2 separate regions of the Homo sapiens genome follow, and region 1 is linked to region 2. The links are contacts of gene promoters, found by promoter capture Hi-C in blood cells and fetal thymus (Javierre and others, 2016). All regions are on one chromosome and are shown on one strand. Each heading gives the region's core, a stretch centred on a gene start or on the middle of the fragment in contact. The rest is flanking DNA. Distances are from core to core; before and after follow the strand shown.

The links. The method cuts DNA at HindIII sites, captures the fragments that hold promoters and counts their contacts. A CHiCAGO score of 5 or more calls a contact.
Region 1: a contact is called between a fragment that was not itself captured here and the fragment with the promoter of HOXC6 in region 2, in 2 of 17 cell types (naive B cells and total B cells). The highest score is 7.7, in naive B cells.

The regions. Positions count from the first base shown.
Region 1 is chr12:53,921,328-53,928,036 of GRCh38, forward strand. No RefSeq gene overlaps it. Among named protein-coding and RNA genes, the nearest start is that of HOXC13, 14 kb to the right of the region's middle. RefSeq lists an enhancer at 6,676-6,709. The HindIII fragment of the contact is 2,986 bases long and covers 1,926-4,911 here.
Region 2 is chr12:54,025,531-54,032,069 of GRCh38, forward strand. It overlaps HOXC6 (homeobox C6), which reads left to right and starts at 2,910. Exons shown (of 2, transcript NM_004503.4): 1 at 2,910-3,391; 2 at 4,125-5,293. The coding sequence starts at 2,992. The coding sequence ends at 4,432. It also overlaps a transcript of HOXC4 not described here and a transcript of HOXC5 not described here. The HindIII fragment of the contact is 15,214 bases long and covers 1-6,539 here.

The DNA.
Region 1 (6,709 bases), core at 2,169-4,668, 100 kb before region 2:
GGTTATCTCAGGCTGCTGTGATATGAGATCAGCCCCCTGTTGACATTCAAGGTGAAGTTTACCAGCTGCAAACCTTTTTTTTTTTTTTTTGCCGTGGAATATTGTGACAAGTGCTAATTCTCTACCACGGGCCTTGAAAAGAAAGCATGCAGGCCTGTCGGAGGGTGGGAGGCAAGGGGAGGGAGAGCATTAGGACAAATACTTAAGATATGTGAGGCTTGAAACCGAGATGATGGGATGATAGGTGCAGCAAACCGCAAACCACCATGGCACAGGTATACCTGTGTAACAAACCTGCATGTTCTGCACATGTATCCCAAGACTTAAAGTAAAATAAAATAAAATAACAAAAAAAGAAAAGAAAGCATGCTATTATTGATGGTCTGTCTGTTATTCAATATACATATACATGGAGAATATTAAGGTATATTGGTATATACTATAGACTTTCAGAATGTGGCCACTCCAGGAGACCTAAGCAAATTCTCTTGCTGGGTATTGGTGGTGGGGGTGAGAGAGATCCAGAGAGAAAAGGGCCCAAGCATCTCTTATAGTGGAAGTGGGTGCACCCATAACTGACAAAGAGTGGATCTGCTTAAAATGTAAAAAAAAAAAAAAAAATGTTTTGACTACCCAATGTCAAATGGCCAACGTACTTAATTTTTTTTCACTGACTTAACTAAATCATCTTATTGTTGTGACATTGTGTCATAATCAAAGCACTGATTTCCAAGATTTGTGTGAAACAGGTGACTACAGACCTGTTCATTCTCAGGTTTTGAAAGATAAACTTTTCTGTCATTAACTCCTTAGTCCTTACAATGTCAAAAATCATATTTGGAGTTTTGTCATTAGAAAACAGAACTGAAACATTGTTTGGACATTTTGTAGACAATTGTGGTCATCCTCTAATTTTCTGGGCACTTGGATAATATGTGTGAAAGAGAGAGACAGAGAGAGATCTTACATATGTGTGTGTGTGTGTGTGTGTGTGTGTGTGTGTGTGTGTGTGTGTATGTATATATATCCTAAGACTATAGCTAGAAGAAACTTTAGATTTTATAGACAACTTTCACACTTAATAGAGGAAGAATCAGAGTCAGACAGATGACTTACTGAAGAATATTTTACCATTAGGAGACAGATGTGGACTAATAATCCTTTTGACTCCAGTGGGATTCAGTGCACTTTCCTAGACAGTACACATACTAGTAGGGGCTAGAGACTGGGACAAATAGTCCCAGTTAATAGTTCTTTCAGAAAACGAGGCATTATGTTGCTTGAAGGAGTTGGTAAGCTGGCATTCTTTCTTATAGACAAAAGAATAGATAAGATGATTTAAATGCCATTTCAAATCTACTTTTCTCTTAGTCTTTCCTACAGCATACCTATGAAATGGATGGCAGTTATTCAATAGAATTTGTGTCTTTTCCATATTTAAAATATGTCTTTGTACATGTGCACGTCTAATATTCAAATGAATGTTATTCAACATCTGCGTGTGTGTATGTGTATATGGAGTAGAAGGCTTTGTATTATGTTTTCCTCCATGGGTGTATATTACTCAGACCCTCTCATGAGTCTGCCTACTAATTTAATGTATTAGTTTATTGTTACATCATTTCTATACTTTTCTAAAGCGCTTCAGATGCAGCCCAATCAGAACATAAAAACACATGTGCAAGCAGCCTTACACACACACACACTTGCACACAAGGAGACATATATAGACATGTGCTGCCACACATTCCCTAGATCTTCCTTGCATACCCCTGCTATAGCTGGGCAGACATTATTGTCACTTCAAGCTGGAACAAGTGAAGCAGCCTGCTTTTTCTGTTTATGCTGTACAGCTGATGACAGATAACTGCATCATGCTCATCTGCTTAGACTTTACCTCTTTTCTAAAGGGCGGCCAGAACAAAAGCTTCTTCCTATCAGCATTTTTGTAAGAAACACCTTTTCCCAGAAATCCCTATTTGGTTCATACTGTCCTGCCAGATTTACAGTTCCTCGGTTTCCCAGCCTCTTCTCCCTGACTCCCTAATGTAGAATTTCTGCTCAGCCAGACGAGTGCCTTCTCTCCAGCAGCACATACCTTGTCCTCTCCAGGCTCTAAACTGCACAAGCCATTGCCCAAGTTGGGACACAAGTCTTTTCCTACTTCTCCCTTGGGGCCCTTTTCTGCTCTCCTCCCCAAGTGTCTCTCCCCTCTGAAGGAATGACTGTCTTGTCTGATTCATCTCGCTTCTGCTGCAGCTCCCGCTCCTCCTCCTCCCTGCATTGTGGTCCCTCATTTCTCTTGTCACTCAATCTTCTCACCTTTCTTTCTGCCTGGGTCCTGAGTATATGCTCCATCTCCCTGCACAGATAGGGTGTGGCTCCCCACATTCAGCAACTGGCTTTGTCTCTTGTTTCCTGGTGCTCCCCTCCCACAGCCCAGGCAATGCCTTGTTCCTGACAGAGTGTTGACTGACAGACTGGCTGGAGTTGAAGCTCAGCCTTAATACTTCTTCCATCTCTTTTCTTGATTAATTTGATGTGTTTGGCATCACCTCTGCTGCTGGAGGGGTATTTTCTAGGAGGCAGAAGAGTGTCGGAGGCCTTGCTCCTTTTCCTTCCCTTCCCAGATAGACTAGTATTTCAACCTGACAGCTCCCAGCTGGTCCTCTGGCTATGGAGCATTGAGTGTTTATTTTCCTGATGTTTTTATTCCAAAGTCTTTGCCAGGGTCATGTTGTTGAAATCCACCAAGTGACAGCAGCCCCTGACCCTGCTACTGAATCCGAACACATTTTACAGGTACAGCTGTTGTCAGAAAATTACAGAAGCCAAAGGCAAAAAAAAGAGGCCTTGAGAGGTCATCTTGGATATGCCCCTGTTTCCAGTCTAGTTTCTGCTCAGGTAAATTAGAAAAGACTAGTTTCAAAGTGCTACACAAGGGAAATGGATGTCTCACTCTTAAATCCCACTCCATTATCTAGCTATTCCCACCATCAGAGTGTTTCATTATAGGGACCCACAACCTCACCTTTGAATGCCAGGCCCTTTCCACTTCTGTTGTTGCCAGAAAGTTGATGATGATGAATATAACCCACTATATACTTGAAAAAGAAAATTAGATTAGAAATAATCCAGAGAAAGCGGTCATCCATGACCAAGTGGTCATCCATGATGGATAATTCAATCTTCAACACAATCTACATTCTTTCCAAAGACCAGAGTAATTTCCAGACTGACTTAACTGTTAACCATGAACATCCAAAATCCTCCCTGGCTCACAGTGGTAAGTAGGTTTCCAAGTCTGGATTAGTCTTACCCTTAGATTTAAATGTTTTTTATTTGCCCACATCCCACTCTATGGCTCTTCCCCCAGCCCAGGCTGAGAGAGTGCTGGTGCCACTCAATGGTGTCCACACATAATAAGGGTCTGTGTAATGCCAAGCAACCGGCTGTAAGCAAGAGAAAAATGTTATCTGGCTAATCCATCCACTTGTTAACATATATTTGGATATTTGGAAATAATCCAATGAAGGACTGAAGTTTTCCTTTGTCAGCATGTAGGCAGTCCTAAAATATCATAGTCAAGCAATGTCCATAGACAAAGTTAACTGCATCATTAACACTTCTTTTTTTCACTTGGCATGCTATATCTGACAGGCTTTCTCCCCACCTGGTGACCCAACGCTGGTCTGAGTGGCTTGGCATTCATTATAAAGAGAGATGCCAATGTCTCAAAAGTGCCAGAGAGGCTGGCAGACTGCCTAACTATAAGGCAGCTGCTGTGATTTCCATAAGAGAATAAGCAGAATGCAAAACAAAACTGCAAGAAGGAGGCTGCCCAGTTCTTGTTGTTGGCAGGGGCCAAAAAAGCAGGAACTCATTTCCTCATCTCCTGTGACTGGGTCTGGCCTACATATCCAGGGACTAGGAGGGAGAAATTTGGGTGAACCAATGCAAAAGAATGTATTCTCATCACCTCTGGAAAAAAATGCTTTTGTGCCAGCTGTTTTTCCAAGGGACCAACTGGAGCTATTACCATACAATCTAGTGAAATGAATGGTGGTTCTTTCCTTAGATCTGGAAATATATCAAACTGAACAATTCAGGAAATCTACGGTTTTGGTAGTGAGTTGCCAAAACTCTGCTTTATTTGGTGCTATGCAGTTTCAACTATAGTAGCCCTGATCTAGTTGGCTTATCTCTACAATTCAAACCATTAGAAAACTGTTTGAGCCAATCCTTCACTCTCTTCATCCCTTGAAACCCTAGTGAGCCTGAAACAACAGATAAGGGTCGGGCGGGGGGTGCGGGGGAAGAAGAGAAACACAAGGTTAAAAAATTACCCCTCGTTCCTTCTACACACATCTAGGCTAAAGCAAACTTGAGTGAGGGAAGGAAGAAAATATCACATTAAACCGAGCTCAGAGTCTTGAAGCTACATTGCACTGGACATTCTCCCTAAGATTTGAAATTGTGTATATGACTTGAAGTTGTTACAGGATTGTCTATTACCTAAGAGCAGGCAGAAGAGTCTGGGGCCCCCTGGAGTTTTAATCCAAGAGCCAAGAAGTGTTAGCTAACATCCATTGACATTGATAAAGGGTGACAGAACACAAAAATGAAATTGTATTTCGCCTTTTAAAGAGTAAAGGATGGACTGGGATATGATTGTAAATAAACCCCAAAACATATAGTCACTTAAATACAATAGAAACTTATTCCTTCCTCAGGTAAAGTCCTAGGCAGATGATTCTTGCCAGTGGGTGGCTGCCCTCTCCATGTGGTTCAGGGATCCAGGCTCTTCCTATCGCGTGTCTGAACTATTCCCTAGGGTGCCATGGTGGACATCCTCACAGAGGAAGAAGACAGAGAGCACGGAGGAGAATGGGAACACACCCACTTGTTAAAAGCTTTGGCCAGGAAACGGCACATGCATTCCATTAATTAGAACTAAGTCACACATCCATATGAAACTGCAAAAAATGCTGGGGGTGTAGTCCAGCTGCAGGCCCAGGATTTGGAGGGAGCAGTTGCTATATCTTTATAATGGTTGAAATTTTACTGGCTTCTGTGTCCAGTGGCAAATTTGGATATAGAAGATCCTCATGGGGTACCAGACGTTCAACCATCATAGGCAGCAATCTTATGAGAGTATTTCTTTCTCCAAAAGGAAGGTCATCACTCCCCAAAGGGACTTTTCTCTGAATGGTGCAGGTTGATGGATGGCGGGGAGAAAAAAAGGGACTGGGAGAGAAAAGGATTTCTGTGAAAGAGCAGAGCAAAGGTAGCCATGCTCAGCTGCCTCTTGAAGATAAGGAAGGCTCCTGTAGCTTGACTACTGAGACCTACTCGCAGGAGATTTGTTCCTTCCCCCAATGGAACTTCTCATCCCTTGTGTAATGAATATGCACCTGAAACTCCTAGGTCTCAGAGAGCCTGAAAGTGAACACGACCCTAAAATATCCGAGCTACTGAAAACAATCTGGTAAAATGTGCCACTGGACACAGAAGCCAGTAAAATCCATGAAGGCAGAAGAATTGCCTGGCCCTTCAACCCCAAATAAAATAAACATATTTCACATCTTATTAATTCCAAAACTGGATTCAATTTTTTAAAGTGCCGCATTCTGGTGAGATCAGAAGACACATCTGGCAAGAATGAGGTCATTACAAGAAGAGTTTGACTATTTCTAATAATCATTAAAAAACACCCGCCGCCCTTGGATTCTCACTCGGGGTGGGGAGCGAAGAGCTTTGCAGGACCCATCAAGGAAAGCAAAGATTCTGGCAACACAATTCCCCCTGTTAACTATATTCCCGGCCTCTAGGTCGCTATTTAAACTAAAAGGGCGTCTCCATTCTCCCCCAGAGGTACCGTTCTACAGCCACACTCACTACTTTATCCATGTCTGTGTGCAGTGAGCATTTTTCTGTTCTTCTAGTTTCACTGGAGTTTTATTTTATGCACCCTTCCCCTGCCCCATTTCTTGAGACCAGCTGGACCGCATGCTGGAAAAACAAAACAGGAGAGAGGGGAAGGTCCCTCAGATTCCAAAGCAGAACACAACCAAGGCTTCCTAAGTAAATGAAAAGGACTTGGAGAAGACATAACACTTCAGTGTAGACACTTAAGTTGAAATTTCTGCCCTGTCGTTCCAATGCCATGATGGAGAAGGACCCCTAAAATCGCCTTTGGCGTGTGCAGCTCGAGCGTTACAACGATGCAAAGTGCGGTCTTTGGAGGATGCGGGAGTCGGTAACCCCTCAATTCACTCTCGCCGTTCCTTCTCTCCAGTCTGCGCGAAAGCCAGGTCCGAGGGCTTCGAAGATCTGGGGGACCCGAGCTGCGCACAGTGGCGGGAAACGAGCGGGCTCAGCTGGCCGGGCCGCGTCCCCTAGCCACCGCCCGCCCGCCCGCTGCTTTGGCCTCCGGAGAAGCCTGGAGAGGGGCCTGCGCCTCTTGAAAAATGGCTTTTGGGGGCGGTAGGTCTCGGGAGGGCGACTGGGGAAAGTGACTTGCCGCGGCTTCGAGTAGAGACGTTGGTGCGGGACCCAACTCCTGGGGAAGGCGGGGAGCGCTGGGCGGATGCCTGGCCCTAGTGCGGCGCCAACACATACAAGTTCCGCTGTGAATGTTTGAAAGTGTAAGTTTCTCTCGGATTGATTTTTTTTTCCTTTAAATGTATCCCCTTCAAAAAAAAAAAAA
Region 2 (6,539 bases), core at 1,660-4,159:
GGGGGGGGAGGTGTTGAAAATTAATTTTGCCAAAGGTCTTTAAGCAGTGGAGGAATTTATTTGTATTTCTGTTTCCCCTTCTCTCCCCCTTCCAGCATTTCTGCCTTTTTCACCCAGCAGCTGGTTTCTGTTCATTATAAATCGGCGAGACCTTTCAGTCTCTGCCCTCTGTTTAGGGACGTCATAAAACACTTAACTTTCTGGGGCTGAGGCTCACATTCTGCCTCTCAGGTCGCCAACCTCCCTGAGCCCACCGACTTTAGGCCCCAATAGAGAATCTCCCCAACTTTGGGGCCCCTTTCCTCTCCAGACATGGTTGAGGAGGGGCTCAAGGAAACCTAGGCATCCTTGCTGGGGGCTGTAGTCCATGCTGCCCCAGAAGCCCCTTCTTTCTTCCAAGGTCCTTCCCTCCCCCACCCAGACATAAAAGAGATTTTTAAATACATAGAAAATCAACACTCATTGAAAGTGAAACCTCATTAAGACATCCTATCTTCCATCATTCAATTTGTTGTACATTGCAACAATTTAATATCTTGAAGGAAATATCACTGACATGATTTATCCCTCTAGCAATCTCTCTCTGAAATTGGAGGGGGGGACAGAGTTACTCTCTCTTCCGGCCTCTTCTACTTGTTACACCACTACCCTTAGGGCAGAAAGGAGGCTGGGAACTCTGAGAGAGGCTACTTGTGTCCAGGGGTGCACTGACTTGTTCCCTAGCTCAGTCCCCAGAGTACTCCTGCCTTGTTGTCTCTCCCCCACCTCTTGCCCTCCAGGGGGCCTGAAGCCTCAGCCAGCTGTTGGAAACCTCTGCTCAGGCATGCCATGAATTCGAGGACAGCTGGATTCTAGGGCAAAAAGCAACTCACATTGGTGTCTATGTTTGTGTACCTGCCAAGTCACCCCAAAAATGAGATAACTCATCTAAAATTTTTTTTCTTAATTTAAAAATCCTCCTCTACCCTTTCCCCTTCATTTCCTTGGGGAGAAGAAAGTGTGATCTAGAAGGAGGAACCTTTATAATTATAGGAGTCTTTCCCCTTCCCTTCCAAATACCGACAAATTTCTGTCCTTTCTGGAGGATTGGGGCTGTATTTTCTAAAACCAACACAAATTGTCTGGCAGGAAGACTCTTCAACCCCCTAACGAGGTTCATGTATTAACTAACATGTTGTCTCCACCAGCTCCTGCACACTGTCTGCTTTTGGGTTCGAAACTTTATTTTTCCCCCCTAGCGACACTCCAGGGAAACCTTAACGTTACAGAAGATGAATAAACGAGTTTTTTCTCAGCATAGTCCCGTTTATGGCTTTATTGCTACCCATTGATTACTCCGCTTTGTTACACAGAAGGAAAAGATCATAAAATCCGGCGACATCCGGGTTCTTGTTATAGCCAGCTTTCCCCCCCCCCAACCCACCCAAAAATGGTGGGGGGGGGGGGATATGAGCTTTCTCTGCTCCCCGCACACTCCCCACCACCCTTCTTTGTCAACTCAAGGCATTTTCAGCCTATATCACGATATCAAATTAAGTTTGGACTAATCAGGAGAAAACCCCCATCTGCACACTTTCCGCTGTTTCAGTTCGCCTACTGCGGCTCCCTCACAAGCCTCGGATTCAGCTGCCTTTTCGTAACCGTCTCTTCCCTTTTTTTAGCCCCAAGATGGGGGAATAAAATGGGCGTTGAGGTTGCTGAGAGGCCCATCCCCACCACGGGTGACTGGCACTTGGGTGAGAGCTCCTTAGAACCCCTTTCTGAAGTCTCCAAGCCTCATAGCTCAGGTCCAGGGGCGCCTCCACTGGCGGTGCCCTGAGTCTGGAGGGGGCAGGGGGGCTTCTGACCAAGGCAGGGGCTTGAGCCTGCAGGAAGCTAACTGTCCATCAGAGCCCCACCAGCCTTCTCTTTCTGGCTGGATCCTATGTGAATTACCCCACAGGCCCTCACTGGCTCCAAATAATAAATTCTCACCAACATAAACAGGAGTTGATGTCTCTAGAAAGATTCTCAGAGTTTTCGTTCTTCCTCTCTCTCTCTTTCTCTCTGTCTTTCCCCCTCCGGTGCCACCTCCCTACATTTTACTTCTTTTTCTCCTTTTTCTATTGCATTTTTTATACATTTTCCCTTTTAGGCAAAAATGCTGGAAGAGTTTTCCCAACAGAGGGGTCCTGAGAAGGAGGCAGAAGGGAGCCAGGAGGCAAAGGAGAGCAGATGCGTGGCCCATTTGCCCACTCCAGCTCTGCCACTGTACCCTGAAGTCTTGCCCCTTTAGACCTAGTTGTTCCCCACATCCCTACTACATTCAAGACTCTCAGCCACACTCTACTTACTCAGGGGAACAGGTTTTATGAAATTTCTTTCTACTTTTGATTTTTTTTTAATTATTGGTGAAAAAAATACTAGTTTAGTGATGGGACTCACTCCATGGAGTGTCAAAACAGGATTTCCTGCAGGATTTCTAGGGACCCCCCTCCTGTGCTGGGAGGGAGTTCTTCCCTTGGAGAAATCAGGATGTAATTTTAGAAGGGGGCAGATATAAAACATGAAACCAGATTGAAAATACAGGGGTTTCTCTAGCCCTGGCTCTGGCCACAGCACAGCAAAGTTAGCTGGGGCTGAGAGATTTCCTGGTAGTACAGCTCTCCTTCCCTGAGTCCCAAGGCCCTGCTCAGGGACATGCACCCCTCCTTCACCACCAAACCAGTTCCCTTACATATATATATATATATATATATTTTTTAAAAGAAATCCAAGTCTTACTTTCAAAGCACACACTTAGTCTCAACTAGGGAATCAACAGAAGCAGAAGCGATTTTTTTCCCCCTTCCTGACATCTGGCTTGCGATTGGCTGGGAGGGGGTCAGCTGACTTTGTCATTTTGTCTGTCCTGGATTGGAGCCGTCCCTATAACCATCTAGTTCCGAGTACAAACTGGAGACAGAAATAAATATTAAAGAAATCATAGACCGACCAGGTAAAGGCAAAGGGATGAATTCCTACTTCACTAACCCTTCCTTATCCTGCCACCTCGCCGGGGGCCAGGACGTCCTCCCCAACGTCGCCCTCAATTCCACCGCCTATGATCCAGTGAGGCATTTCTCGACCTATGGAGCGGCCGTTGCCCAGAACCGGATCTACTCGACTCCCTTTTATTCGCCACAGGAGAATGTCGTGTTCAGTTCCAGCCGGGGGCCGTATGACTATGGATCTAATTCCTTTTACCAGGAGAAAGACATGCTCTCAAACTGCAGACAAAACACCTTAGGACATAACACACAGACCTCAATCGCTCAGGATTTTAGTTCTGAGCAGGGCAGGACTGCGCCCCAGGACCAGAAAGCCAGTATCCAGATTTACCCCTGGATGCAGCGAATGAATTCGCACAGTGGTGAGTTTTACAGCTCCGAGATATAAATTAAATAAACTGAACTGGCTTTATGACCGGCTTCCCTAGAAGAACGGGCGGAGAGAGTTTTTTATGGCCCCATAAAAACAATCACGCTCGTCTCCTCACCGAGACAGGGCCCCCTCTTCTGCCCCCTCAGCTCGCCTCTCGCTCGCTTGCAGGGGCCTGGCCCCCTTGGCCCCTGACGGATTGGAGGGCCCCAAGGCGGGCTGAGGGGGCAGGAACAGGGCAGGGGATGAGGGGAGGGAGCAGAAGATAGGGGAGCCCCCCAAAGTGGAGTCAGTCTGAGGAGAAGGGAGGGGGAGAGGAGAGGCAGATAAGTGGGGAGAAGTTTCCAAGGAACTAGGATGCTTGGGGAGATGGGGGAGCCCAGTCCTTGAGAAAGGGGGCCCTCATCCCCATTATCTGGGATTTTTCAAAAATCTGCTTTTAGACTTGCAGCTTTCTGTTTGCCTTTTGCCCCGCCCCCCCGCCCCCCCCCCCACCACACACCTTTCTTTGGGACACACAGGTCCCACCTTATAGGAGGTCTGAAGTTGGGGTCCTCGCTGTACCCCCAGTGGGGGTGGGGCAAGGCAAAAGGGAGAAGGCTAGAGCCCTAAGGAGGCTGTGAGCTGCTGGCCAGGTTGGGAGGGTCAGGACTTTGCTAGGCGAAACAGTCTGCAGAGGACGCTTTGCTGATTGCTTTTAGTGTGTTTTGTGCCCGGATCTTTAGGGGTCGGCTACGGAGCGGACCGGAGGCGCGGCCGCCAGATCTACTCGCGGTACCAGACCCTGGAACTGGAGAAGGAATTTCACTTCAATCGCTACCTAACGCGGCGCCGGCGCATCGAGATCGCCAACGCGCTTTGCCTGACCGAGCGACAGATCAAAATCTGGTTCCAGAACCGCCGGATGAAGTGGAAAAAAGAATCTAATCTCACATCCACTCTCTCGGGGGGCGGCGGAGGGGCCACCGCCGACAGCCTGGGCGGAAAAGAGGAAAAGCGGGAAGAGACAGAAGAGGAGAAGCAGAAAGAGTGACCAGGACTGTCCCTGCCACCCCTCTCTCCCTTTCTCCCTCGCTCCCCACCAACTCTCCCCTAATCACACACTCTGTATTTATCACTGGCACAATTGATGTGTTTTGATTCCCTAAAACAAAATTAGGGAGTCAAACGTGGACCTGAAAGTCAGCTCTGGACCCCCTCCCTCACCGCACAACTCTCTTTCACCACGCGCCTCCTCCTCCTCGCTCCCTTGCTAGCTCGTTCTCGGCTTGTCTACAGGCCCTTTTCCCCGTCCAGGCCTTGGGGGCTCGGACCCTGAACTCAGACTCTACAGATTGCCCTCCAAGTGAGGACTTGGCTCCCCCACTCCTTCGACGCCCCCACCCCCGCCCCCCGTGCAGAGAGCCGGCTCCTGGGCCTGCTGGGGCCTCTGCTCCAGGGCCTCAGGGCCCGGCCTGGCAGCCGGGGAGGGCCGGAGGCCCAAGGAGGGCGCGCCTTGGCCCCACACCAACCCCCAGGGCCTCCCCGCAGTCCCTGCCTAGCCCCTCTGCCCCAGCAAATGCCCAGCCCAGGCAAATTGTATTTAAAGAATCCTGGGGGTCATTATGGCATTTTACAAACTGTGACCGTTTCTGTGTGAAGATTTTTAGCTGTATTTGTGGTCTCTGTATTTATATTTATGTTTAGCACCGTCAGTGTTCCTATCCAATTTCAAAAAAGGAAAAAAAAGAGGGAAAATTACAAAAAGAGAGAAAAAAAGTGAATGACGTTTGTTTAGCCAGTAGGAGAAAATAAATAAATAAATAAATCCCTTCGTGTTACCCTCCTGTATAAATCCAACCTCTGGGTCCGTTCTCGAATATTTAATAAAACTGATATTATTTTTAAAACTTTATACCGGGAATTCTGTTAATTCGCTCGCCCGCCGGCCTCAGGGTGAGAGCTGGAGCAGGCTCCAAGCGCTCCCGCGCCTGCCGGCCCCCTGCAAGCCCCCAGCCCTCTGCACTCGCCTTCCCCGGAGCCCAGGCGCCCGGCCCCGGCCTTCTGTTCGTTCTCGCGATCGCACTGAGGGGCTGGGAGGCCTCTCTGGGCTCCCTGCGCGGAGCAACACACACACCCTGCGGGAAAAAGCCGCGTAGGATTTTGTTGCGGGGGGAGCTGGGATCAGTCGGTTTGGGCACCAACCCCACGCAGGCCTTTCTTCCTGCCTGTGGCAGCCGGTGTCCTCGGCGTCCGAACCCTGAGGCGCCCCGAAAGACCAGTAAAGAAGCACTATCCAGGCACCAGGGTCTCCTCCACCCACTCCCGGGAGTTGGAGGCGGGGGGCGCCGTGAGAGCAAGCCCCAGGCCCGCGCCAAGCTGGCTGTTGCGAAACGTAGCGGAGGCGGAGAGCGGAGGGAAAGAGAAGACCGCGGGACTGGAGCCCTGTCGGCAGGGATTGAGCGATTCAAGGACATCTCGAGAGAGAAAGCCTGGAAACTGAGCTCTCGCCTGCTCTGGTACTCCTGACGTGGCCGGGACAAAATTCCTTCTTCATTACAGCTCCAGCCGGGCTGGTTCCTTACTTTTCTCTCCTCAAACGGGTGAAGAGGCGGGTGAGGAGCGCAGCCGGACCCTAACCATTTATCAACCCTGGCCTTCTCTCTCCAAGCCTGGCCAGAGAAACCTGAGTGGGCCTACAGGGAGAGGTGTTGAGGAGGGTCTCCGGAGGGAAAAAATCCGCCAGAGTTTTCCGGGCCCTTCAGATTCCCTCCAGCGCCCCCACCCTCGCCTCCAGTGCCTCCACCAGTGAGGAGGGGGCCTTCTCCTGGCGGGGCGGAGATTTCCTGGGAAGAAGCAGGCAGGGAAGTATGAGACTTGGGGCTACGGGGGAAGAGGATGGGGCCGAATGGCTGCAGATACCCTGCGAAGGCTACCCAGGCGCCTGCCCTGCCCACCCCCCAGGTCCGCCCCATTCCTCTTGGTAGCTCAGAAATTGCTCTCTTGTGAACCTTATGGATTCAGGTCCCTGGAAAGCCTAGCCCAGAGACCTTTTCCCCAAAGGGCACATAACGGGCCTTTTCCTCTGCCATGCTCACGTAATATTTGTGGAGGCTTCAATCTTGCTTCTCCATGTCCTCAATTAACATCTATTTTCTGTC